Linked DNA regions of Homo sapiens: regions 2, 3 and 4 are each linked to region 1. The links are contacts of gene promoters, found by promoter capture Hi-C in human tissues and cell types (Jung and others, 2019). All regions are on one chromosome and are shown on one strand. The core of a region is centred on a gene start or on the middle of the fragment in contact, and the rest is flanking DNA. Distances in the headings are between cores, read along the strand shown. Region 1 holds the start of SNF8 (SNF8 subunit of ESCRT-II). Region 2 overlaps LOC105371811 (a long non-coding RNA gene). Region 3 overlaps TTLL6 (tubulin tyrosine ligase like 6). Region 4 holds the start of LOC105371813 (a long non-coding RNA gene).

Region 1 (6,062 bases), core at 1,623-4,122:
TGTGAGCCACCGCACAGGGCCAATCAATCAATCAACCAATATAAATTAAAAAAACAAAAAACTTTTGAGTCATGAACCTCCCTGGGGATCAACTCCAGATAAAGAACTGCTCTGGGACTGTAATTTGCCAGATTCCATTTCATGTTAAATACAAAAGACTTGGGGATTTTCTGACTTTGTATTACCCCTTCTCTTTTCCTAATTAACAAGGACCATCTTCTATCCCACCAAAAATAAGCACTCCTAGCCCAATATTTATTTCTCATATAAAACTGTTAGAAACCTCCACATTCTTAGGCGGAGGTTGCAGTGAGCCAAGATCACGCCACTGCACTCCAGCCTGGGCAACAAGAGCGAAACTTGGTCTCAAAAAAAAAAAAAAAAGAAACCTCCACATATTTTAATCACCATTTTCAGTTGATTCCTGCATGCCATCTCCCCTGTGAGTGGGTGCTTTTGAAGAGCACAGCCTGGGTTTACTATTTTTCCTCAGCTCACAGCCCCATTTTCCTGCTTAACGGCTTCCTCCACTTCTTCCCCAATCACAATCACTGGGTAAACTCGGAGCACGTACAGAGAAGGGAAGGGCTGGAAAAGAAAACTGCACAGGAGCTGCACCCCCCATCACTCACACACTGTCCTGGTATGTGCCTAGATGTCATGATGGTGGTGTGGGTGCCACAGGTTAGGCAATATTTTCATTTTATTCTGAGGTATTTAAAATGAAAAGCCCCAGAGGACCTAAATCAATAACAGCTCTACCACTTACTACCCATATAACCTTGGATATATTACTTAACACCCCAGTGTCCTCAATTTCTGCCCACCTCGGCCTCCCAAAGTGCTGGGATTACAGGCGTTAGCCACCGCACCCGGCCTTTTTTTTTTTTTTTTTTTTTTTTTTGCTTTTTTTTGAGATGGAGTCTTGCTCTGTCCCCCAAGGTGGAGTGCAGTGGCATGATCCTGGCTCACTGCAACCTCTGTCTCCTGGGTTCATGCAATTCTCCTACCTCAGCCTCCCCAGTAGCTGGGACTACAGGAGCCCGCCACCACGCCCGGCTAATTTTTGTATTTTTAGTAGAGACGGGGTTTCGCCATGTTGGCCAGGCTGGTCTCGAACTATGGACCTCTGGTGATCAGCCTTCCTCAGCTTCCCAAAGTGCTGGGATTACAGGCATATGCCACAGCACCCGGCTCTCAATTTTAAACTCAGAATATGGCCGGGCGCGGTGGCTCACGCCTGTAGTCCCAGCACTCTGGGAGGCCGAGGCGGGTGGATCACCTGAGGCCAGGAGTTTGAGACCAGCCTGGTCAATATGGCGAAACCCTGCCTCTACAAAAAAAAATAACAAAAATTAGGGCCCGGCACAGTGGCTCACGCCTTTAATTCCAGCACTCTGGGAAGCCAAGGTGGGCGGATCACGAGGTCAAGAATTTGAGACCAGTCTGACCAACATGGAGAAACCCGTCTCTACTAAAAATACAAAAATTACCCAGGCGTGGTGGCGCATGTCTGTAGTTCTAGCTACTCGGGAGGCTGAGGTTGGAGAATCACTTGAACCCAGGAAACGGAGGCTGCAGTGAGCCGAGATCGTGCCACTGTACTCCAGTCTGGGCAACAGAGCAAGACTCCCTCAAAAAACAAACAAACAAACAAACAAACACCTCAGAATAATAGGGTTCCTTCCTTATGGGACTGTAATGAGGATTGAACAAGACAGTCTATGTAAAGAAAATAGACAAATGCCTGGGACGTTACAAGCATGTAATCACTCAAAGATGTTAGCCATTATTGTTATTAGCAAGTCACCTAAAAGATCTCAGCGGCTCAGAAATCAAAATTTGCCAAACACCCTATTTCTAGTTCAATCTACACAATCAAGTTCGTATCCAAGGTGTCTTGGCCAGACCTGGTTAGGTCTCCCTCCCTGCCTGGGGCCCCCCAACCGACTTACCTGGGCTAGCTGGTCCTCAGCCAAGACCGTCCCTCGCTCCTTATACTTGGCCTGTCAGACAAAGAGACCAGCATAAGTTAAGAGAGTGGGCGCTGGAGGCCAGGCGCGGTGGCTCACGCCTGTAATCCCAGAACTTTGGGACGCCGAGGCGGGCGGATCACGAGGTCAGGAGATCGAGCCATCCTGGCTAACACAGTGAAACCCCGTCTCTACTAAAAATACAAAAAAATAGCCGGACGTGGTGGTGGGCGCCTGTAGTCCCAGCTACTCAGGAGGCTGAGGCAGGAGAACGGCGTGAACCCTGGAGGTGGAGGTTGCAGTGAGCCGAGATCGCGCCACTGCACTCCAACCTGGGCGACAGAGCAAGACTCTGTCTCAAAAAACAAAACAAAACAAAAAAACACAGAGTGGGCGCTGGGTTCCCCCATTTGTGCTGCCACAGCTTTGGGATGAAAAGAGGAGGATCTCTGTAAATTGTTTTCTTAGGGAGAAGGATAGGGTGAAGGAGTAGAATCGACGACTGTAGATTTGTGAGTAGAATCCCATTTGTAGTTAAACTTGGGTAAATGGGAGAAAGGGCTGGGCATCTGGGAACGCTGCCAATCCACCGGAAGCTGGAGAAATTCTGTGTCCCGGGGCCGAGAAGCCAGTCTCAGATTCTGTTGGGAGGTGATTAACGGGTAGGACACTGCTCCGGGACAATTCAGTCTCGCACGGGTCAGGGGCAGGTTGTGGGTCGGCCTTCTTCCTGCTCACCTCTGCAAGTTTCTTCTTGGCGATGGCGCCAGCTCCCACCCCGCGGCGGTGCATCCCCACCCTGGGCCCGCGGGCCGCCCGGCTGCCGGGACCCCGGGTCTCCACGTCCCGGACTCCGCCGCCGGCTCCCCAAGGCGGAAGCCCGAGCCGCGCGTCATCTGCACGCGCCGGAAGCCACGAGCCGCATTTCCTGCCGCGAGGCTGAGTGTCTCCAGTTCCTACCGGCCCGGCGACCCCGCCTTTAGCTAGTGGCCAAGATTCGCAAAGCCTCGCGGCGAGGAAAGCACGAGTATTCAAGCGCGGCTGAGGCCCTCCTTGGCTAGTGCTGGGACATGGAGCCCCGGCAGCCAAGGCCAACCTTGTGCATTCCACCCACGTAGGCGCCTGGGGCCCTGGTCTTCCTCGACTGCCTCTCCACTGCCTGGAGGTCATCAAATGCCCCTGGACCACCTCCTACGTGCCACACGCTGTGTTGGCCATCCAAGGTTCCATATTGAGCATAAAACAGCCCTCTGCCCTAAAGGAGTTAACCTGTTGGAATCACATACAAAGGATTCTGACTACCAAGCGCCTTGAAGTTAAGTTGAACTCTGAAGACAGATTGCCTGGCTACAAAGCTCAGTTCCACTACATATGGTCCAGGAACTTAAGACAAATTATTTTAATGTCTTTATGTTTCACTATCCGCTGTAGTGAAATAGAATAATACCTACTCATGGCCTGACGCGGTGGCTCAAGCCTGTAATCCCAGCACTTCGGGAGGCTGAGGCGGGCGGATCACCTGAAGTTAGGAGTTCGAGACCAGCCTGGTCAACAAGACGAAACCCCGTCTCTACTACAAATACAAAAAAATTAGCAGGGCGTGGTGGTGCGCATCTAATCCCAGGTACTCGGGAGGCTGAAGCAGAAGAATCGCTTGAACCCAGGAGGCGGAGGTTGCAGTTAACCAGGATCGCGCCATTGCACTCCAGCATGGGCAACAAGAGCGAGACTCCGTCTCAAAAAAAAAAAAAAAAAAAAAAAAGCAGTAAATTATATAGTGCAATGCCTGGCACACAAATAAATATCATTTATGATTGTTATTCATTGTTTGAGATAAAATCAGTCATCTGTAGCCGGGCGCGGTAGCTCACACCTGTAATCCCAGTACTTTGGGAGGCCGAGGCGGGTGGATCACGAGGTCAGGAGTTCAAGACCAACCCGGCCAAGATGGTGAAACTCCGTCTCTACTAAAAATACAAAAAATTAGCCGGGCGTGGTGGCTGGTGCCTGTAATCCTAGCTGCTCGGGAGGCTGTAGCAGAGAATTCCTTGAACCTGGGAGGTAGAGGTTGCAGTGAGCAGAGATCTTGCCAATGCACTCCAACCTCGGTGACAGAGTGACTCCATCTCAAAAAAAAAAAAAAAGGAAAAAAACGAAAAAGACCCAGGTTCCTTAAGCGAACCAGGAGGTGGTAGTTAGGCTTCTCCACATGGAAACCCCTTAGTTTCACTGGCCATGGCCAAAAACCTGCAGTTGCTTCCATGTTTGGGCGCTGCCCACCAACGGTCCTGGGTTGGAAAGGAAGACAGAGAGAGGGAGAGATTCCCCTTTATGGAGTAGAAAGGAAAAGGAAAAAGGGGGAAAATAAATCCCAAACTTTGGGCTTACATTTTCCTCCTGGCTGGCTCGCCAAAATATGTTAACGGTGGAGGGTGTTCCAGGTTCTTGGGGTTTTGCACAAACAACTGGACAAAACGCACAAACAAAGCAAGGAAGGAATTAAGGGATTTATTGAAAATGAAAGTAGCACGGGCGCGGTGGCTCACGCCTGTAATCCCAGCACTTTGGGAGGCTGACCCAGGTGGATCACTTGAGGTCAGGAGTTCGAGACCAGCCTGGCCAACATGGTAAAACCCTCTATCTACTAAAAAAAATGCAAAAGTAGACAGATGTGTTGGCTCACACCTGTAATCCCAGCTACTTGAGAGGCTGAGGCAGGAGAATCACTTCAACCCGGGAGGCCGAGGTTGCAGTGAGCCAAGACCACACCATTACACTCCAGCCTGGGCAACAGAAGGAAACTCCATCTCAAAAAAAAAAAAAAAAAAAGCAAAGAAAAGAAAACTCAGCTGGGCGTCGTGGCTCATGCCTGTAATCCCAGCAATTTGGGAGGCCGAGGCGGATGGATCACCTGAGGTCGGGAGTTCAAGACCAGGCTGACCAACATGGAGAAACCCCTTCTCTACTAAAAATACAAAATTAGCCAGGCGTGCTGGCACATGCCTGTAATCCCAGCTACTCGGGAGGCTGAGGCAGGAGAATCGCTTGAATCCAGGAGGAGGAGGTTGCGGTGAGCTGAGATTGCGCCATTGCACTCCAGCCTGGGCAACAAGAGCGAAACTCCGTCTCAAGAAAAAAAAAAGAAAAGAAAACTCTACAGCGTGGGAGCGGGCCCAAGCATAGGGGCTCAAAGGTTCTGTTACAGAGTTTTTTGTGAATTTAAATGCCCTCTACCTGGGGTACACACGCCCTATGTAAATGAAAAGGATGAAGTAAAGTTACACAGTCCCATTTACCCAGTGTATGCCCTATGAAAAGGATATTTCCTCTCATAGCTGAAGTGAGTTGCCTGCCTCTAGACCCTATGTTCCTGCCTCAGTGGCAGCCTGGATTTAATTCATCTCAGTTGTAGTAATCCAAACTAGAAATGATGAGGGCCAGAACAAAGACAGTGGCAATAAGGAAAGCGAGAATGGGACAAATCCAAGAGATATTAAGAAAGTAGAGTGAGGCCAGGCACGGTGGCTCACTCCTGTAATCCCAGCACTTTGGGAGGCCGAGGCGGGTGGATCACGAGGTCAGGAGTTCAAGACCAGCCTGGCCAATATGGTGAAACCCTGTCTCTGTGGTGGCACAAGCCCGTAGTCCCAGCTACTCGGGAGGCTGAGACAAAAGAATCGCTTGAACCCGGGAGGCGGAGGTTGCAGTGAGCCAAGATTGTGCTACTGCCCTCAGGCCTGGGCGACAGAGCGAGACTCTGTCTCAAAAAAAAATAAAAAAAGGACCAAGCGCGGTGGCTCATGCCTGTAATCCCAGCACTTTGGGAGGCCGAGGAGGGCAGACCACGAGGTCAGGAGATCGAGACCATCCTGGCTAATGCGGTGAAACCCCATCTCTACTAAAAAAAATACAAAAAAATTAGCTGGGCGTGGTGGCGGGCGTCTGTAGTCCCAGCTACTCGGGAGGCTGAGGCAGGAGAATGGCGTGAACCCGGGAGGTAGAGCTTGCAGTGAGCCGAGATTGAGCCACTGCACTCCAGCTTGGGCGACAGAGTGAGACTCCATGTCAACAAAAAAAAGAGAAAGGAAG
Region 2 (6,062 bases), core at 1,477-3,976, 200 kb before region 1:
CTCTGCCCTGGAATTGGAATCCCCCACACCAGTCTACCGGTAGATTCTGCTTCCTTTGCCCCTTTATCCTCCACCCCCATCTGCATGGTTTTTCTAGCCTCGGGAATCACCTGCCCTGGGAGTGCAGGCCAAGCTTTGGACGAGGGAAAGCACAGACTGACGCCGACCAGCCCATCCTCCCCGGCCTTGCACTGCCCGAGATCCGTGCAGGTCAAGCGGGCAAGGTGGGACGCTCTCAGGTGGGAGAATTCATAGGAATTAAGGGGAACCCACTAACTCTTCATCAAGACTAGAGGCCAGCCTAAAGAATTTTCCCCCTTTTTGTCCCAGAGACATTCTTTCCTTCCTTCTGCGTGTGTAAACACACCTGGTCGGGCAGATTTTTCAGTAATCCCAATACTGAGTCACCTCACCGGCCGGGGTTTACTCCCCAGCTCCTGGATGGTAAAGCGCCCTGCGGCCCGCGGGTCAGGTCTTTAACGGTCCAGCCAGCGCAGCAAGAGAGCTGGGGAGTCTTCTTGCAGTCCCTTCCTCCTACTCACGCAAAGATCTCCTCTATGCTGGTAGGTGCACCTGCCCTCCACCGATCCTCACCCTGAGCGCAGGTCGTACCTCAAGGCGAAAACCCGCTTAGTGCGTTGGCGGGTGGAGAGCTGCCGCCTTCTTGATCCGGGACTGAGAAGCTGCACTCCCTGACGCCACTGTGGCCAGCACCTCGGGCCGCGCAGACCCCTACATCTCTAATCCCATAGCCCTCCAGGGGTCCTTGGGGCAGTCCCTTTGGAAAGTCTTCGAAGTGCAGGGTACTTTAAGTACCCTGTAGACGCCTTTTATTTAATCCGCACAACAAAAGAACGGGGCAGGAGTGGGGGGAAATTGTTACTTCCGTTTTGTAGATAAGAGAACTGAGCCGGGACGGTGGCTCACGCCTGCAGTCCCAGCACTTTGGGAGGCCAAGGCCGGCGGATCGCTTGAGCCCAGGAGTTCCAGATCAGCCTGGCTTGAACCCTGAATTTCTGTTGAATCCGAAGTTGGATGGTGCAGTGAGCCGTGATTGCGCTGCTGCACTCCAGCCAGGGAGACAGAGGGAGAACCAGTCTCAAAAAAGTAAAAGAAAACAAGAAAGCTGAGGTTTAGGAGATAATTTGTCCAACTTCTAGAGGCAAATCGAGGCTTTATGGCACCAAATCCTGATTCTGATATTTTCACTTCTCTTCCCTCTCCAAACACAAATCGTTGACACATTTTTATTTTATTTTATTTTATTTTATTTTATTTTATTTTATTTTATTTTGACACAGGGTCTCATTCCCTCACCTAGCCTGGAGTGCATTGGCGCGATCTCGACTCACTGCAGCCTCGACCTCCCGAGCTCAAGCAATCCTCCCACTTCAGTCCCCTCAGTAGCTGGGACCACAGGCACTTACCACCACGCCCAGCTAATTTTAAAATTTTTTATAGAGACGAGGTCTCGCCATGTTACCCAGGCTGGTCTCAAACTGCTGAGCTCAAGCGACCCTTCCACCTCAGCCTCCCAAAGTGCTGGGACGACAGGCATGAGCCACTGCAACCGACCATGACAAATTTTAAAATGGAAATAAATTTCATTATATCTCATTAGTATCTCAAACTAATACTAAAAACAGACTTAAGATATTTGGGAAATTATTAAAGGGAAAAGGGAAAAATTAAGGAATTTGGAAAAATCAAAACATGAACTCTAAAATAAAGAAACCCGGCTGGGAGTGGTGGCTCAAGCCTATAATCTCAGCATTTTGGGAGGCCGAGGCAGGTGGATCCTTGAGGTCAGGAGTTCAAGTCCAGCCTGGCCAACATGGTGAAACCCCATCTCTACAAAAATAAATAAATAAATAAATAAATTAGCCGGGCGTGGTGGCATATGCCTGTTGTCCCAGCCACTCGGGAGGCTAAGGCAGGAGAATTGCTTGAACCCGGGTGGCAGAGGTTGCAGTGAGCCAAGATCGTGCCACTGCACTCCAGCTTGGGTGACAGAGTGAGACTCCGTCTCAAAAAATGAAATAAAATGAAGAAAACCCTTTAATACACTGTCATCTTTTTTATCAGTGCCCCCCATGACTTCTAAAACTACAAAAGTGGGAACCAATTTCTGTCCTCTTCCTCCCACCCCATTCCTCCCACCCTGTTTTACTTTGGAGGCTGAGTCCACATGAGTAACAAAGGAGCTATACCTGGCAAATGTTCACCTAGAGTTGAATTGTGGGAGGCTCAAACTCCTCTAATGGCTCTGTTACCCACACTGACAGCAGAAAACTGTCATGTTTGGGTCAACAAGCATGGTTGGGTCAACCTGGTGCCAAAACACCTTCCAAGCCTGTCCCTTCTATGGGGGAAAAAAATGGGTATTTGGTGGGCACTGAGGATTCTGAATTTGATTTTATGGGTGGCTCTCAAAGCCTCACCCTTTAAAATTGAGGGTGAACATTGGTGTACATGTGTGGTTTTTTAGGACATGAGCCTACTGCTTTATTCTTTTCTTTTTCTTGAGACGGAGTCTCGCTCTGTTGCCCAGGCTGGAGTGTGGTGGCGTGATCTCGGCTCACTGCAACCTTCGCCTCCCGAGTTCAAGCGATTCTCCTGCCTCAGCCTCCTGAGTAGTTGGGATTATAGGCACACATCACCATGCCTGGCTAATTCTTGTATTTTTAGTAGAGACAGGGTTTCACCATGTTGGTCAGGCTGGTCTTGAACCCCTGACCTCGTGATCCACCCGCCACAGCCTCCCAAAGTGCTGGGATTACAGGTGTGAGCCACCGTGCCCAGCCTATTGATTTGTTTTCTAATGGCAAATTTTACAGATACAGAAAAGTAAACAAAAAAGTGTAATTCAACCCCTCATACCTATCACTCAGCTTCAACAATAATCAACTCATAGCCCATCTTATTGCATTTCTTTCTGGAGGTTTTTTGTTTCGTTTTGTTTTGTTTTGTTTTGTTTTTTTGAGACAGAGTCTCACTCTGCCTCCCAAGTAGCTGGGACTACAGGCGCCCACCACCACACCTGGCTAATTTTTTGTATTTTTAGTAGAGACAGGGTTTCACCTTGTTAGCCAGGATGGTCTCCATCTCCTGACCTCGTGATCCACCCACCTTGGCCTCCCAAAGTTATGATGAGCACCGGGCTCAGCCTTCTTTCTGGAGTATTTTAAAGCAAATCCCAGACTTCTTTTCTTTTTTTTTCTTTTTTTTTGTTCCAAAATTCTTCAGTTTGAATCTTTAACAGGTTTAAAAAAATTTTTTTTTGTTTTTAGAGATGGATCTTGCTCTGTCACCCAGGCAGGAGTGCAGTGTCACTGAAGCCTTGAACTCCTGGGCTCAAGGGATCCCACGCCTAGGACTACAGGACTACAGGCATGTGCTACCATGCCTGGGTACATTTTTTTTTTTTTGGTCGAGACGGGGGTTCCCAGATGGGTCTCAAACTCCCTTGTTCAAGTGATCTGCCTCTTTGGCTTCCCAAAGTGGTGGGATTATAGGCATGAGCCACTGCGCCCAGCCTAGTTTTATTTTATTTTTTGTAGAGACAAGGTCTCGCTTGTTGCCCAGGCTGGTCTCTAAACTCCTGGCCTCAAGGGATCCTCCAACCTTGGCCTTTTGAAGTGTTGGGATTATGGGCGTAAGCCACTCTTCTTTTGCTTTTTTTATATATAACCTTTATGTGATTGTCACACAGGACAAAATTGAGAATAATTCCTTAATACTATCCATGTTTGAATTTCCTAAGTTTTCTCAAAAATGTCTTTTTACAGTTAGTTTAAGTCAGGATCTAAACAAAGTTCATACATTACATTTGCTTGATGTCTCTCAACTGTCTTATAACCTATAACAATTGCTCCCAATCCATTTTTCATGCCATTACTTTATTTAAAAACCTGGGCCAACCCAGTTCTCAAAAGGTATTGGACATCCTCAGAAAAGATGACTGCTCTATGTTGAACCAAACAACTGATTCTTACAGGTTTCTTCCTCACTTGTCCTCTGGCTGTGGCAGCCAGATATGGACAGGAGAGCTACATCCTTCCCTCCACTCCCTGCCAAAGAAAGGAGAGCTGGGATAAGCAGTGCCCTCCCCTGCCCACCCACTATGTCACTTTCTGACTCCCTTTGGTCCCCTCATTGCTCTTGGAGTGAGAGACCTCATTCCTTCTCTCACTGGAGGCAGCCAAGAATGGGATCCTCTGGTGGGTCTTTGGATTATGTAAGTTTCAAACACTGGATACACAGCTCCAGATCTAAAGGCAAGATTGCTGCTCTAGAGGCAGGACTGTTCATTTCCTGCCTTGGGGATGCACCCAGAGGCCTGAATGCTTCCCAAGGAAACCAAAGAAAGAACATGGTCTGTTTCAGAGGTGGAGTGGCCAGTCTAGCTCTGCCATCTCTCACTCCTTCCTGCCTTTAGGGTACCACTGAGGTGGAAAGCCTGAACTGCTGTCTCTGCTCTGGCTTGTGCTCAAGCTGTGTGTCCTTGGACTGGCCATCTCCTCTCTGCAGCCCTCGGTCTTCTCATTTGTAAAATGGAAGTGATCCTCTCTGCCCATACTTCCTTACAGGGCTGCTTGGAGACAATCAATCAAGATGAGGGAAATTGAGATTCTACAAAGAGTGTGATGCCTACATAACAAAGTATTGTTTTTCTCACAGTTGGTGGTATTTGAGGAGAAGGTGAAGATTTTGGTTGGAAGAGGGACCAGCAGACAAACTTGTTCTCTTGTGTATAAAAAGCCATAACACGCCCCACATCCCTCAAGCTAGGAAGAAACCTGGGCTGGATGGTGACCCACTGGAGAAGCTGTGACATCCTAGCATGGGGAAGAGTACCAGGATGCCCACTCCTCTTCCCCAGGAACCACCAAGGAGCCTGGAGCCTGGCTTTATCTCAGCCCTGAGTCCCCCTCTCCCGGTGCGCACACCCCTAACTTTTTTTTTTTAGATGGAATCTTGCTCTGTCGCCCAGGCTGGAGTGCAACGGCAGCTCACTGTAACCTCCACCTCCCAGGTTCAAGCGATTCTCCTGCCTCAGCCTCCCGAGTAGCTGGGATTACAGGCGCGTGACTCCATGCCTGGCTAATTTTTGTATTTTTAGTAGAGGTAGGGTTTCACCATGTTGACCAGGGTGGTCTGGAACTCCTGATCTCAGGTGATCTGCCTGCCTCCACCTCCCAAAGTGCTGGAATTACAGGTGTGAGCTACCGCGCCCGGCCAATCTGGGGCTCCTAGCTTTGGTGCACCAACTACTCAAATCCCCAACTTCTCTCCAAGAGGAATTTCAAGAAACACTGACCAATCTGGTTACAGAAGCTGAAGGGGCCCCAACCAGGCTGCAATAAACCTGCTTTACCCTTCTAAGCTGAAGTCTCTCTTGCCCAAAACTTTGTTCTCTGGGACCTGGTGAGAGGGTGACTCCGTGAGTGCAGAATGCAGTGCAGACGTTATTGAAGAGGCCTCACATTTTTCATTTCCAGACTACACCTAGCTCGTAAGAAGCCAGGGAATATAATAAATTCTCCCCTGCAGGACCTGGTTTTAATTAATTATTGGGTTATTCAAGGTGACTCATGTGTGAAATGCAATGTGCACTCGTAAACTGAATCTCACATAATCCATTCTAAGTAACTGGCTGCGAGCTATCCTCTCCAGAGACTTACACAAAACTTATATTTATCCTTTGAGGGTCTTGGGGCAAAATGTAAGGGTGACTTCAGTTTAAAGAGAGCTCACTTGGCTGGCTAGGGGTACTAAGAAACTGGGTCTTGTTTTCTCAACTGCTGATTTGATGAGGTTTATTTCTTAGAACATCTGGTGTTTTTATATGTATAGTATATATATAAGATATATGTATACGTGTATACACACATATACATTTATATATTTTAGTCATTTGTTTTGCAGTATCTGCAAAGGATATGTGAAGCCAGCTCATTGCAGAATAGAAATTGATGCTGAGTTTTTCTACAGCTAACCTGGCAGCTGAAGCTCCTCCTACTGCCAGGACCTCTGAAATTTGGTCTTTATCACCCACGATC
Region 3 (6,062 bases), core at 1,365-3,864, 150 kb before region 1:
CAGGAGCCTGGCCAGGGTGGAGGGGAGACATGTGGGAGGAAGGAGAGGACTCATTCCCGCCCACTGAAAAGTCTGTATTGTTTGGAGGCACCATGTGACATTTGCAGATTTCTAGAAGTTTTTGAAGGGCTTGGTCCTGATGGCTCATTCTGCTCTTTGGGTAAGGGCTGCAAACAGGCACATCCCTCTTCCCACCACACCTACAAGGGCTGGGAATGGAAGAAGGGCAAAGCTGCAGGAATCTGACCTGTAATCTCGGGTTCTCCACCCCAGAGTCTGACCTGTGTCACTGCACCTGGCACTAGCACCCTTTGCTCCCTGAAGGGCCACATGAGAGGGCTCCTGAGGACAATTCTATCAGGAAGAGAGGCAGTCACCAGGAAAGCTTCTCCTCCTCCTCACACTGCCGTATGGGTCTAGGGGAGGCAGGAAACTCACTACATGGCCCCCCATCCATTTCGGTGGCAGCAGGCCCCAGGACGCTCTCTGCTGGTGTGTGTGAACTGAGTAATCCAGGACCCTAAGAGTGGGGCACCGCCGCTCCTGTCTGATACTGAACGTTGCCAACCCAGCTTTGATGAAAAACGCCCCTTTCTGGGAGACAACTCTTACAAAAGATCGAGCTGTCTTTAGAATCACTCTGTGCCTAAGATCAGCACTTCCTTGTCTAAGAGGACCTCAAGAAGGCAAAGGAATTCTCTAATTCCCAGCTGTCTACCCCCCTCTGGTGGCCACTTCTCAGCTAAGAGAGAAGCCCCAGGCAGCAGGCACCATGGGAGGAAGTGGCCTGGGAAGTTGAAACAATTTAGGTGAGCCAGGAGGGCGGAATCCTTGAAGCGGGCTGGCCCCAATAACAGGAGTTCGTTTTCGCCCCTCGCCCAAACTTCCCTACCTCCAGCAGCCAGGGTTTGAGTTTGTGGTCCAACAAAATGTCAAAGCCCAGGATCTCAAAGCAGGCGCTGTTGAGTGTGTGGTTGGGGAAGCAGGTGTGGTAGTTATGCCTGATGATGGGGTGGGCCGAGATGAGGGTCTTGATGATGACGTCCTCAATATCCCTCCATATCTGCTCCACGTTGTAGCTGTGGTCCTCCAAGTATGCACTGAAGGTGGAGAGCTTCCTGGAAGGGAACCACAGGCCAGGAGGCAGTGTAGCTGGCTTCTGGTCACCCGAGGCCATGGCATGCTGGAAACCAGAAACTCCTGGCGGAGACAAGGCTCCAGAGCCAGCGAGGATGAACGCCCAGGAACCAGGGTGACACCTGGGCTGTGTCGGTGCCAGATGAGGTCCCAGGAATCCCAGGACCACACCCTCCAAGTCTCCAGAGCCCCAGGGTGGGTGCAGATGCAGTCACATAGGACATGGTCAGGACACTTTCACTTTCACTGTGACCCAGAAAACATCTATCAGCAGGGGAAGGGATGAGTCAAGAAAACCCCCTGACACCATGGTTTTACTTTGGCAGCAATGATTCCTCAGCCTTTGGTGTTCATTAGAAGCATGTGGGCAGCCTTTTAAGAACACTGATGCCTGGGTCCCACCTCAGCCATCTGAGGGGATTCTAGGGACACTAATGACACAGAAAACTTGTTTTAGGGCTGCCCACAAGGAAAAGGCACCCAAGGGCATGTCCACAGATAAGGTTACCAACTGTGCCAGGCAAACTGGACTGTCCCAGTTTTAGAATTGCAAGTCCTGAATTCCAGGAAACCCCTCAGTCGTGGGCAAACGGAGACAGCTGGTCACCTGATCACAGATGAACTCAGAGATGTTTACCTCATGTGGAATAGTTCATGAGGAAATACCTGAGTGGGTACTCAGCCAGCTCTGAGCTGGGCATTACAGAGAGAGGATGGATGTCACAAATCCAAGAGGCAGTGGTGGGGACAGACATTTGCCACCTCACATGCACACAAATGTGCACAGACAGCCAAAGTGGAAGTGGCAGTGTGGAAGGAGGAGGTGCAGGGGAGTGAACAGCAGAAAGAATGAAAAAGACAAGAGACACGGCTCATCCAGGCAGTTTCAAAAGCTCACTAGATCCCAGCCCAAGGGGTCAAGAAGGAGGAAGCAGGGTCAGCCAGACAATGAGCATTTGATAAGGGCCTTTGGTGCATGCAAAGCCTCATGCAAGGAGGGGACACTAGAAACTGTCACCTCTGTCATGGGAAGCCTCAGGACCATTCAGGGAGTCAACACACATGTGAAACAACCAAGGATGCATTTATATAAAGACAGATAAGCAAAGGATACTCAATATAGAGGCCACCTCCTCCACCTGCCATTGTCAGAAAACAGTGTTGCACATAAATGGATTTTCCAGATCGCTTTAAGCCAATTTTTTTCAAGTGGAGAAAATGTATTTAATTTGCCTAATTGGGAAATAAATTTTCCTGAAATAGATTATACACCTCCCTGGCAACATATAACATAACCTTTTCTTGATGACTCAGGCTCATCACAATGAATATACTTCATTGTGTAATTTCATAATGCCCAGTGGTAAGTCAATTCAATTTAATACCAGCCATGTGCTGAGCACACTGAAAGATGAAGATGGCTTGGTGTCTGCCCCAGAATCCTGCCAGGTTTTCAGGTTTCCTGTCTTCTCCTTCACTGTGACCGCAGCACTACTCCTGAGTTTGTGCGCCAGTGGGGTATTGACAGGGAGGGCAGTTGACCTCAAACGCCAACTTTGGGACAGATGAGACAGTCAGTATGAGAAGAAGATTGTCTCAAAAGATGGAGAGGAGGAAGAGGAAAGGAGAAACAAGATGGGAGGGAGAGGAGGAAAGATGAACTCTGCCCAGCACTATGGGAAGAACCCCAAAGGCCAGGGCACCATTGTAACCCTCAAGGAGCAAAGTACAACTAGGGACAAAAGACAAATGTGCACTGGGCAAAGAATAGTTATGGGCGATGGCTGATGTTGACCATGAGGGTTGTAAAAATACAAAAAATTGGCCAAGCATGGTGGTGGGCGCCTGTAATCCCAGCTACTTGAGAGGCTGAGGCAAGAGAATCGCTTGAATCCGGGAGTCGAAACTTTTGCAGTGAGCCGGGATCGCGCCATTGCACTCCAGTCTGGGGTGACAAGAGCAAGATTCCGTCTCAAGAAAAAAAAAAAAAAAGACAGTGCCCTGTCCATGAAGTGGATGGCACGGGCAGCATGGCTTAGTGGGTAAGGGCACCAACTCGGGGGTCAGGCAGCCCTGGTTTCAATCCCAGCTTCCTAGCTGTGCGACCCAGGTAAGTTACTTAACTTTTTCACACCTCAGTTTCCTAATATGCAGAATAGGGATGATGATAATGCTGACTTCATAGTGTTGTTGTGAGGAGGATTAAGTGGGTTCAAGTATGTAAATTATCACTAGGAAAAGAAATGTCCAAGCTCTCCACCCCTGGAGATGAGAAGGTAGAGATGGGGAAGTTGGGCAGGGAGACCAATTTGGAGTGCTGCGGTGGAGGCAAGGAGAGAGAATACACCCATTCTGGGAAATGCTGAGTTGAAGACGTCCAGGTGGAACTGAGGAGAGATGGACCTGGAGCCCAAGGGAGACAGGCTGAGCCCAGCAAGGGCAGGCGGAGGCCACGGGGGCACACGGCTGCTCCAGGAGAGAGTGGATGGAGAAGTACAGTGGGGTGAGAGGGAGATGAACAGAGGAAGAGGACAGGGGAAATGGAAGAGGCAGAACAACACTTGAAGCCTTGCAACCTCACCTTAGTTCTGCTACCCCGAGACACCCCTCCATCACAGCCGAGGGCCCAGGGCCTGCTGTTGGGGTGCCAATTCTCATTGGAGGAGGAAAATGAGAACCTTTCCATTCTGTGCCCTTAGACTAAGGAAAAATGACAGTAACCACGCACACTGTCTGTGTTGCCATCACAAGTCATTTGAACCTCACAGAGACCCTGTGAGGTGGCAGGGCAGGGCAGGGAGTCTCATCACGTTCATCCTCCAGACCAAGAAGTGCAGGCTCAGAGAGATGAAGTAACTTGTCCAAGCCTAGTTGGCAAGTGTCGGAGCCGGGACTACAAACTAGACCTCCCAGAGTGCCACGCTCAGAACGCAGCAATGCAAGAGGCCCAGCTGATGCCCACAGCCCAGGTGGGGAGGAGAGGAGGAAGTCGCAGAGCTTCAGGCAGCACAGGTGGCTGACATCTTCTGGAAAAGGGGGAGACTGCCTCCCACCAGCCTTCCACATCCCCTTTAAGCAGCCTTAACTTAGCGATTTTCTGTGTGCTTTTTGGAATGCTGCCACTGAGGGGGTCATGAACTGTCACATGCCTCTCTGATGGTCTGAAGCCAAACTAATTGCCTGTTCAGAGGTCCTTTGAAGCCTGGTGCAGCGGAAAGAGAATGAGCTCTGGGGTCTAACAGACCTCGCTTCTCCACCCAGTCTAGCAGTCACAGCTGCGGGACCTGGGGCAACTCACGCAACCTCTGAGACTCAGTTTCCTCATCTGTAAGATGGAGATGGCACCTAACTCACAGTTCTCCACCTACAGAGGGCAGATAGTAATGCCTTTGCCATAGTGTTGCTGTGAAAAATTCAAGAATAGGCCGGGCGCGGTGGCTCACGCCTGTAATCCCAGCACTTTGGGAGGCTGAGGTGGGAAGATCACGAGGTGAAGAGATCATGACCATCCTGGCCAATATGCTGAAACCCTGTCTCTACTAAAAATACAAAACTTAGCGGAGTGTGGTGGCACATGCCTATAGTCTCAGCTACTTGGGAGGCTGAGGCAGGAGAATTGCTTTAACCCGGGAGGCAGAGGTTGCAGTGAGCCAAGATCGCACCACTGCACTCCAGCCTGGCGACAGAGCAAGACTCAGTCTCAAAAGAAAAAAAAAAAAAAGAAAAGAAAAGAAAAATTCAGCAATAAAAAATGCACAGAAAGCACCAAGCACAGACCCCAACACACATGAAGCCTCAGAAATACTTGCTCCTTTTCCCTTTCCTCCTTCACCTGGTCAAGTTCACATTCTTCAGTCCCCCGTTTTCTTAAAACTCAAATGAGACCCGATTAGACAATAACAGGAATGGAAAAGCCTCTCGTGAAGATACTCTCATGAACTGCTCTCAATTTCCCCCCTTCTGAGGAATCTTCAAGCCGGCTAGCCACATGTCAGGGCACTGTGACACATCATTTGAGAATCTCTAATGGAGCAACGTCCAGGGGAACATGGGCCAAGCAATGACTGCCTGGCAAGTCCTTCTCACGTGGCAGACTAGCGATCAATAAATATCTGTTGATTTGGAAATATCAGAAGGGCCAACTGTAATAAGGGTATGTTTTGGTGTGTGTATATATTCTGCTGGGGAAACAGCTCATGTTTATCTCTCCTCCTCCCAGCCTCCCAGGGTTTACGATGGGGCCTTCTTTTAATGATTAACAGCCAAGAGGGCAGAGATGAAGGAATTTGTTCTGGGTTGCGAGGCAAAGGAGTATATTCTCAGACCATGTGACCCAAGATGGAAACACTGATGGGGACTAACAGGGTTTGGGTAGAATCCCAGAAAGCAGTTCTGAGGTTGGTAGGGAAAGGAAAGAAAAATGAAGCCTCTTCCTTACCTCTTACTGCCAGAGTGTGCATCTCGACTGAAATTTGAACTGTGCTTATTAATGGAATAATTAGTCAGGTGCATGCAGATATCATCCTGGGGAAAAAGACACACATCTGTCGGGTCAGCTCGGAAGGGCAGGCCCCCTGCTTCCTCTCTGTGCCCTCCCATGGCCCCTGGGGCTTGAAGGGATGGAAAGAAAGGGAAGTTTTAGGGCTTATTTAGTGTGGCAAAATACAGGAAGTAAGAAGGGGTGTCCTGCAGCCTCGAGCCTAAGAAACTCCAATTCTGCTGGGCGTGGTGGCTCATGCCTGTAATCCCAGCACTCTGGGAGGCTGAGGCAGGCAGATCACGAGGTCAGGAGTTCAAGACCAGCCTGACCAACATGGTGAAATCCCATCTCTACTGAAAATACAAAAATTAGCCGGGGATGTGGTGCACACCTGTAATCCCAGCTACTTAGGAGGCTAAGGTAAGAGACTCGCTTGAACCCAGGA
Region 4 (6,062 bases), core at 2,624-5,123, 130 kb before region 1:
ACAGGGCTAATGAATATGCAAATTACATCGCTTCTCATATGTATGTGTGTGTGTGTGTGTGTGTGTGCACGTGCATAGATATATGTTGCTTCCCAGAGGGATTGCATATTCCCATGTTGCTTCCCAGAGGGATTGCAATAATTTGGAATACTACCAGCAATATGCAACAAGAGCAGGCTCACCAGAGCCCCACAATCTCTTGGGAATCATCTCCCCTCTCTATACATATTTGCTATTTGTTTTGTTTTGTTTTTTGAGATGGTGTCTCATTCTGTCACCCAGGCTGGAGTGCAGTGGTGCAATCTCAGCTCACTGCAACCTCCATCTCCTGGGTTCAAGCGATTCTCCTGCCTCACCCTCCTGAGTAGCTGGGATTACAGGCACCTGCCACCACGTCAGGCTAATTTTTTTGTATTTTTAGTAGAGACAGGGTTTCACCATGTTGGCCAGCCTGGTCTCAAACTCCTGACCTCAAACGATCTGCCCGCCTCGGCCTCCCAAAGTGCTGGGATTACAGGCGTAAGCCACCACGCCTGGCCCAAACTTGCTAATTCTAGACAACTTTTATACCCTACAGCCAATGTCTTTGATATGACTGCACCCTTCCACCTTTCTCTATTCCTTTCTAAATCCAAATTTGGTGGTGTGGAGCCCTTAACTATGGAAGCTACCTATAAATAATATAATTATAAGCTTTTATGTGGGGATAGTTCTCTGGGCTTTTCAAAGAATTTTCATATTCATGCTCCCATTGAATGCTTACAATGAGAGGGATGGCAGAATTGTTACGTCAGCCAAGGATTGCCACTTGTTTCTTTCTCTTTCTGAAGAGGGCTGCCACTTATAGGCAAGACCCTTTATGGTGACACCAGAGCAGGGGGAGGAAGAGATGTGCTCAGGACAGATAAAACCTGGGTCTTCTGAGTCAATTGTTCCCAGTGAACAGGCACATTCTTGGCAAAGTTCAGGGGAACTAAGGTACTTGAAATCTTGACCTTGGACTACTTCCTTCCTTGAAGGTAAACGGCTAGCTCCACTCCCCTAGCCCTCCGCAACGGCTCCTATGTACCAAGCCCTCAAGGAGGAGTGGCTCTGTTTACCTAAAGGTTAATGTTAACTTGGGGAGAGAAAACTGACCCTGAGTTTGACCTCTAGAAGTGCGGGTTCTCTTTGCTCATTTTTGAGTCCTTGCCTGAGTGGTAAGAACAAGTCATGGCTCCTTCTATGTGTCTGCCTCAAAGAGTAAGCCAGGTGCAGTGGCTCACGCCTGTAATCCCAACATTTTGGGAGGCCAAGGTGAGAGGATTGCTTGAGCCCAGGAGTTCAAAACCCGCCTGGGCAACAAAGTGAGACCCCATCTCTATTAAAAAAAAAATTAGCTGAGTGCAGTGCTGCATGCCTGTAGTCCCAGCTACTCAGGAGGCTGAGGTAGGAGGATTGCTTGAGCCTAAGAGTTTGAGGCAGCAGTGAGCCATGGCTGCACCACTGCACTCCAGCCTGGATGACAGAGACCCTGTCTCAAAAAAAGAAAAGAAAGGCCGGGCGCGGTGGCTCATGCCTGTAATCCCAGCACTTTGGGAGGCCTCAACTGAGGTCGGGAGTTCGAGACCAGCCTGACCAACATGGAGAAACCCCGTCTCTACTAAAAATACAGAAAATTAGCCAGGCATGGTGGTGCATGCCTGTAATCCCACCTCCTCAGGAGGCTGAGGCAGGAGAATTGCTTGAACCTGGGAGGCAGAGATTGCGGTGAGCCGAGATCATGCCATTGTACTCCAGCCTGGACAACAAGAGCGAAACTCTGTCTCAAAAAAAAAAAAAAAAAAAGGAAAAGAAAAGAAAAAAAAGGTCAAATTATGTTTGCTCTTGCATGAGAGGGCCTCATGCATGTAAAGTAAAAAATTGAGCCCATGCACTTTTAGATAAACTGTTTCACCATGGAATTATTGCCTGCATTTCCTCGTATTCTAGGCTGCCTATGACATAAGAGCCATCTTGGATGGTACCCGAGACAGGTGCAAGATGGCAAATGGTACTTGCCATGTGACTACTTTTGCTTTGTCTTTGGCCTCCTTGCTTTCATTTCCCCCAAGCTTCTCTCCCTGTTTAATCTCCAAGGCTGAATCCTGTCTCTCCAAAGATCCTGAAAGAGCATCTCCTTCAAAGTTTGCCTACTGGGGACAGGCATGCTGAATCTAGCTTGCAGAAATGTCTACTTCTGGGGCATAGTAGCGCATACCTATAATCCTAACACTTCGGGAGGCCGAGGTAAGGGAATCACCTGAGCCCAGGAGATTGAGGCTGCAGTGAGCTGTGATCATGCCACTGCGCTCCAGCTGGGCAACAGTGAGACCCTGTCTCAAAAAACAATCAAACAAAAAAACCTATGTGTATATATAGTATGTGTGTATATATATATAGTACATATATACACATATATAGTATGTGTGTATATATATATAGTACATATATACACATATATAGTATGTGTGTGTATATATATATATATATATATATATATATAGTATGTGTGTGTATATATATGTAGTTGCCAACAACTAGAAAATGCAGATTTCCATTTCTTTTGGAGAGGTCTCTATTCCTTCATGCCAGCAATCAACCAGAGCTCAGTAATGCCTCCTGTAGACATTTCCCAGTCTGCCCCAATGCCCAACACTCCTTTTTGTTTCCCTGACACAGGAGCCAAGTGACAGTTATCCTTATATTATTATTTTTCTTTTTTTTTTTTTTTTTTTGAGACAGAGTCTCACTCGTCACACAGGCTAGAGTGCAGTGGCATGATTTCGGCTCACTGCAACCTCTGCTTCCTGGGTTCAAGCGATTCTGTTGCCTCAGCCTCCCGAGTAGCTGGGATTACAGGTGCCTGTCACCATGCCTGGCTAAGTTTTGTATTTTTAGTAGAGAACGGAGTTTTATCATATTGGTCAGGCTGGTCTCAAACTCCTGACCTCAGGTGATCCACCCACCTTGGCCACTCAAAGTGCTGGGATTACTCAAAGCAAGTGTGAGCCACCATGCCCAGCCTATTTTTCTTATAGTAGCATTGAGACATCTCTTTTTTAGAGACATGGTCTTGCTATGTTGCCCAGGCTGGTCTCAAATGCCTGGCCTCAGGAGATCCTCCTGCCTCAACCTTGGAAGTAGCTGGGATTACAACCATGAGCCGCTGTGCCCAGCTCAAGAGAGGTGACATTTTCTTAAACGCAGCCCACTTCTTTCATTTAAACTATATGCCTGACCCTATAGACATCTGAATTTATACCAGTTCTGCTCTAGTATCTCTGGCCTCCAAGCAGTTTCAAGTGAAAACAAAAGCTACTTCCACCAGGGCTGAGCAGAAAGCTTTTTTTTTTTTTTTTTTTTGAGACAGAGTCTTGCTCTGTCACCCAGGCTGGAGTGCAATGGCACGATCCCAGCTCACTGCAACCTCCACCTCCCAGGTTCCAGCTATTCTTCTGCCTCAGCCTCCCAAATAGCTGGGATTACAGGCACCTGTCACCATGCCGGCCTAATTATTTTTGCATTTTTAGTAGAGACGGGGTTTTGCCATGTTGGCCAGGCTGGTTTCAAATTCCTGAACTCAGGTGATCCGCCCACCTCGGCCTCCCAAAGTGTTGGGATTACAGGCGTGAGCCACCACGCCCAGCCAGAAAGCATTTTAATTCCCTGGTTTTCAGAATAAGAATTAAATCTGACCCAGGTGATGCTGGGACCCCCCCCCCCACCCCCCGCTCAGACTTTTCAGATGTGGACTTTATTTGGTTCTACAAGACTTCTCTTAACAGTCTTAGCAACCACTCCCTGCTCACCTGGTAGTTCCCACCTATTGTCTTGCGTAACAATTTTGTTGGTGCCAACACCAAAAGCAGTCTTGTAGCCTTGAGGAATAAAAGGAGGAAAGGCAAAAGACATGGCCTAAGGAGAATACAAAGGAGTGAGGGGAGCTGCTGGTGGCATCCTGAAATATACATACATCATGGTGTAAGGGCCTCTGCCGTCAGCTACAGGTGACTAAGCCACTTATTAAGAGGCAGCTGCAGTGTAGTAGCTAAGAACTCAGATTTCGAAGTCTCTGTCTGGATTTAAATCCCAGCTCTGCCACTTCCTAGTTGTCTGAACTCAGGCAGTTTATTTAACCTCCTGCCTTAGTTTCCTCATCTGTAAAGTGGCTTCTCCCAGTTATGGAGATTAAATGAGTTTACTCATTTGACTTAATGCAACACAAAGTTCTTAGAACAGTGCCTGGCACATAGAAGGTACCCACAAAGTGCTCTCTACCATTACCAGCTGTGTAACCCTGGACTGTGAACTTCCTGATGGAAGAGGCTGTGTCTCTGCATTCTCAGCTCCTAGCAGTGTCTAGAAAAGATACTAAAAATGAGATGTTCATATGCTCCTTGAATTAATGGGCTGGAAGAATGAATAAATGCATGAACTAATTAAGCTTCTCCAAGGTTCATTTTCCTTAGCTATATAACAGAAGTGTTGTTGTGAGCATTAGGTAAGTAACATTTGTTATTTACATTGTTAAAACATCAACCTTGGGTCCTTCTCATATAGCTGGCACTTAAAATGCTTGTTTCATTCACTTACAATAGACTATTGAAAACCCACTTACCAAGTAGCAGACATTACACTAAAGCATTTATAAACATAATGTCTCATCCTCATAATAACCTATCATGGATACTCTTTCCTCTATTACAGATGAGAAGACTGAGACAGAGAGACTAAGGTAAGAGGCACAGCTGGGGTTGGAAGACATGTCCATCTGACCCCACAGCCTGTCTCTCCATGCTCCCCTCACTGCCTTTTCCTCTCGGCAGGCCATCCATAAATAGTGTGACCATAAACTAAAGTAACTGATCTCCTAACTCCCAAAAGCAATCTTAGTGACTTTAGTCTCTTAAGAGTCAGTTGGGGACAGGCACGATGGCTCATGCCTGTAATCTCAGCACTTTCGGAGGCCAAGGTGGGCAGAGCACTTGAGCCAGGGGTTTGACACCAGCCTGGACAACATGGTGAAACCCCACTCTACCAATAAATAAATAAATAAATAAGCCAGGTGTGGTGGCGTGTGCCTGTAGTCCCAGCTACTCAGGAGGCTGAGGTGGGAGGATCACTTTAGCCCGGGAGGCTGAGGTTGCAGCGAGTAGAGATCACACAACTGCACTCCAGCCTGGGAGACAGAACTAGACCTTGCCTCAAAAACAAAAAGAAAAAGAAAAAGAGAAAAATAATCAGTTGGTCCCACATCATTTTCCTTAAAGTCAACTGCTTTAAATTCCCATCTCCAACAAGGGCTTGGATCTCTCCAGATTTGCCATAACCTGGTAACAGCTGTATTGTTTCTACTTGTATTTATTTTCACTCTCTTTCCCTTCTTTTCTCCAATGTCCACATTGTACCAGGGCTCCTATTAAGGGTGTAATTAGAATATTTTCTAAGCTTCTATGGAATTCCTGAATGTTAGAGCTGGGAGGAATCTTTTTAGAGGAGGTTTTGAACTCTCTGCCCTCTGCCAGTCTGTGCTAGGGGAGGGGACTTGTACCCAGCCAGAGAGCAAGAAATCAGAAGCACCATCAAAACCCCAGCTTCCTGGTCCCCAAGTTATCTTCCCATTATGCTGGGTTAGTGGACAGACAAAGTGGACTAAGTGCTTTAGAGAGTTTTTAAAAGACTAAGGCTGGGTGCGGTGGCTCACGCCTGTAATTCCAGCACTTTGGGAGGCCAAGGCAGGTGGGTTACTTGAGGTCAGGAGTTGGAGACCAAGTTGGCAAACATGGTGAAACCCCGTCTCTACTAAAAATACAAAAATTAGCTGGGCATGGTGGCAGGCGCCTGTAATCCCAGCTACTCGGTAGGCTGGGGCAGGAGAATCGCTTGAACCTGGGAGGCGGACGTTGCAGTGAGCCCAGATCGCACCACTGCCCTCCAGTCTGGGTGACAGAGGGAGACAGTGTCTCAAAAAAAAAAAAAAAAAAAAAAAGACTAAGAGCTGTACTACCAATGTAACAAACACAGTAAATAGCAAAATAGCA

Evidence for each region. The method cuts DNA at HindIII sites, captures the fragments that hold promoters and counts their contacts. A contact is called where the count stands out against the background at its distance.
Region 2: a fragment that was not itself captured here is called in contact with the fragment with the promoter of SNF8 in region 1 in 1 of the 25 tissues and cell types used here (lymphoblastoid cells).
Region 3: a contact is called between a fragment that was not itself captured here and the fragment with the promoter of SNF8 in region 1, in 1 of the 25 tissues and cell types used here (spleen).
Region 4: a fragment that was not itself captured here is called in contact with the fragment with the promoter of SNF8 in region 1 in 11 of the 25 tissues and cell types used here (IMR-90 fibroblasts, adrenal gland, dorsolateral prefrontal cortex and 8 more).

The regions. Positions count from the first base shown.
Region 1 is chr17:48,941,970-48,948,031 of GRCh38, forward strand. SNF8 (SNF8 subunit of ESCRT-II) reads right to left here and starts at 2,873. Exons shown (of 8, transcript NM_007241.4): 1 at 2,712-2,873; 2 at 1,956-2,006. The coding sequence starts at 2,765. RefSeq lists a silencer at 2,586-2,815. The HindIII fragment of the contact is 34,253 bases long and covers 1-6,062 here.
Region 2 is chr17:48,738,444-48,744,505 of GRCh38, forward strand. LOC105371811 (a long non-coding RNA gene) reads left to right here. Exons shown (of 3, transcript XR_934823.2): 3 at 4,681-5,022. Among named protein-coding and RNA genes, the nearest start is that of HOXB13, 13 kb to the left of the region's middle. The HindIII fragment of the contact is 8,003 bases long and covers 1-6,062 here.
Region 3 is chr17:48,790,486-48,796,547 of GRCh38, forward strand. It overlaps TTLL6 (tubulin tyrosine ligase like 6), which reads right to left. Exons shown (of 16, transcript NM_001130918.3): 8 at 5,576-5,661; 9 at 893-1,118. Among named protein-coding and RNA genes, the nearest start is that of TTLL6, 24 kb to the right of the region's middle. The HindIII fragment of the contact is 6,945 bases long and covers 1-6,062 here.
Region 4 is chr17:48,808,332-48,814,393 of GRCh38, forward strand. The region is part of intron 1 of TTLL6 (tubulin tyrosine ligase like 6); the gene reads right to left. LOC105371813 (a long non-coding RNA gene) reads left to right here and starts at 3,909. Exons shown (of 4, transcript XR_001752926.1): 1 at 3,909-4,028; 2 at 4,729-4,756. The HindIII fragment of the contact is 4,960 bases long and covers 1,394-6,062 here.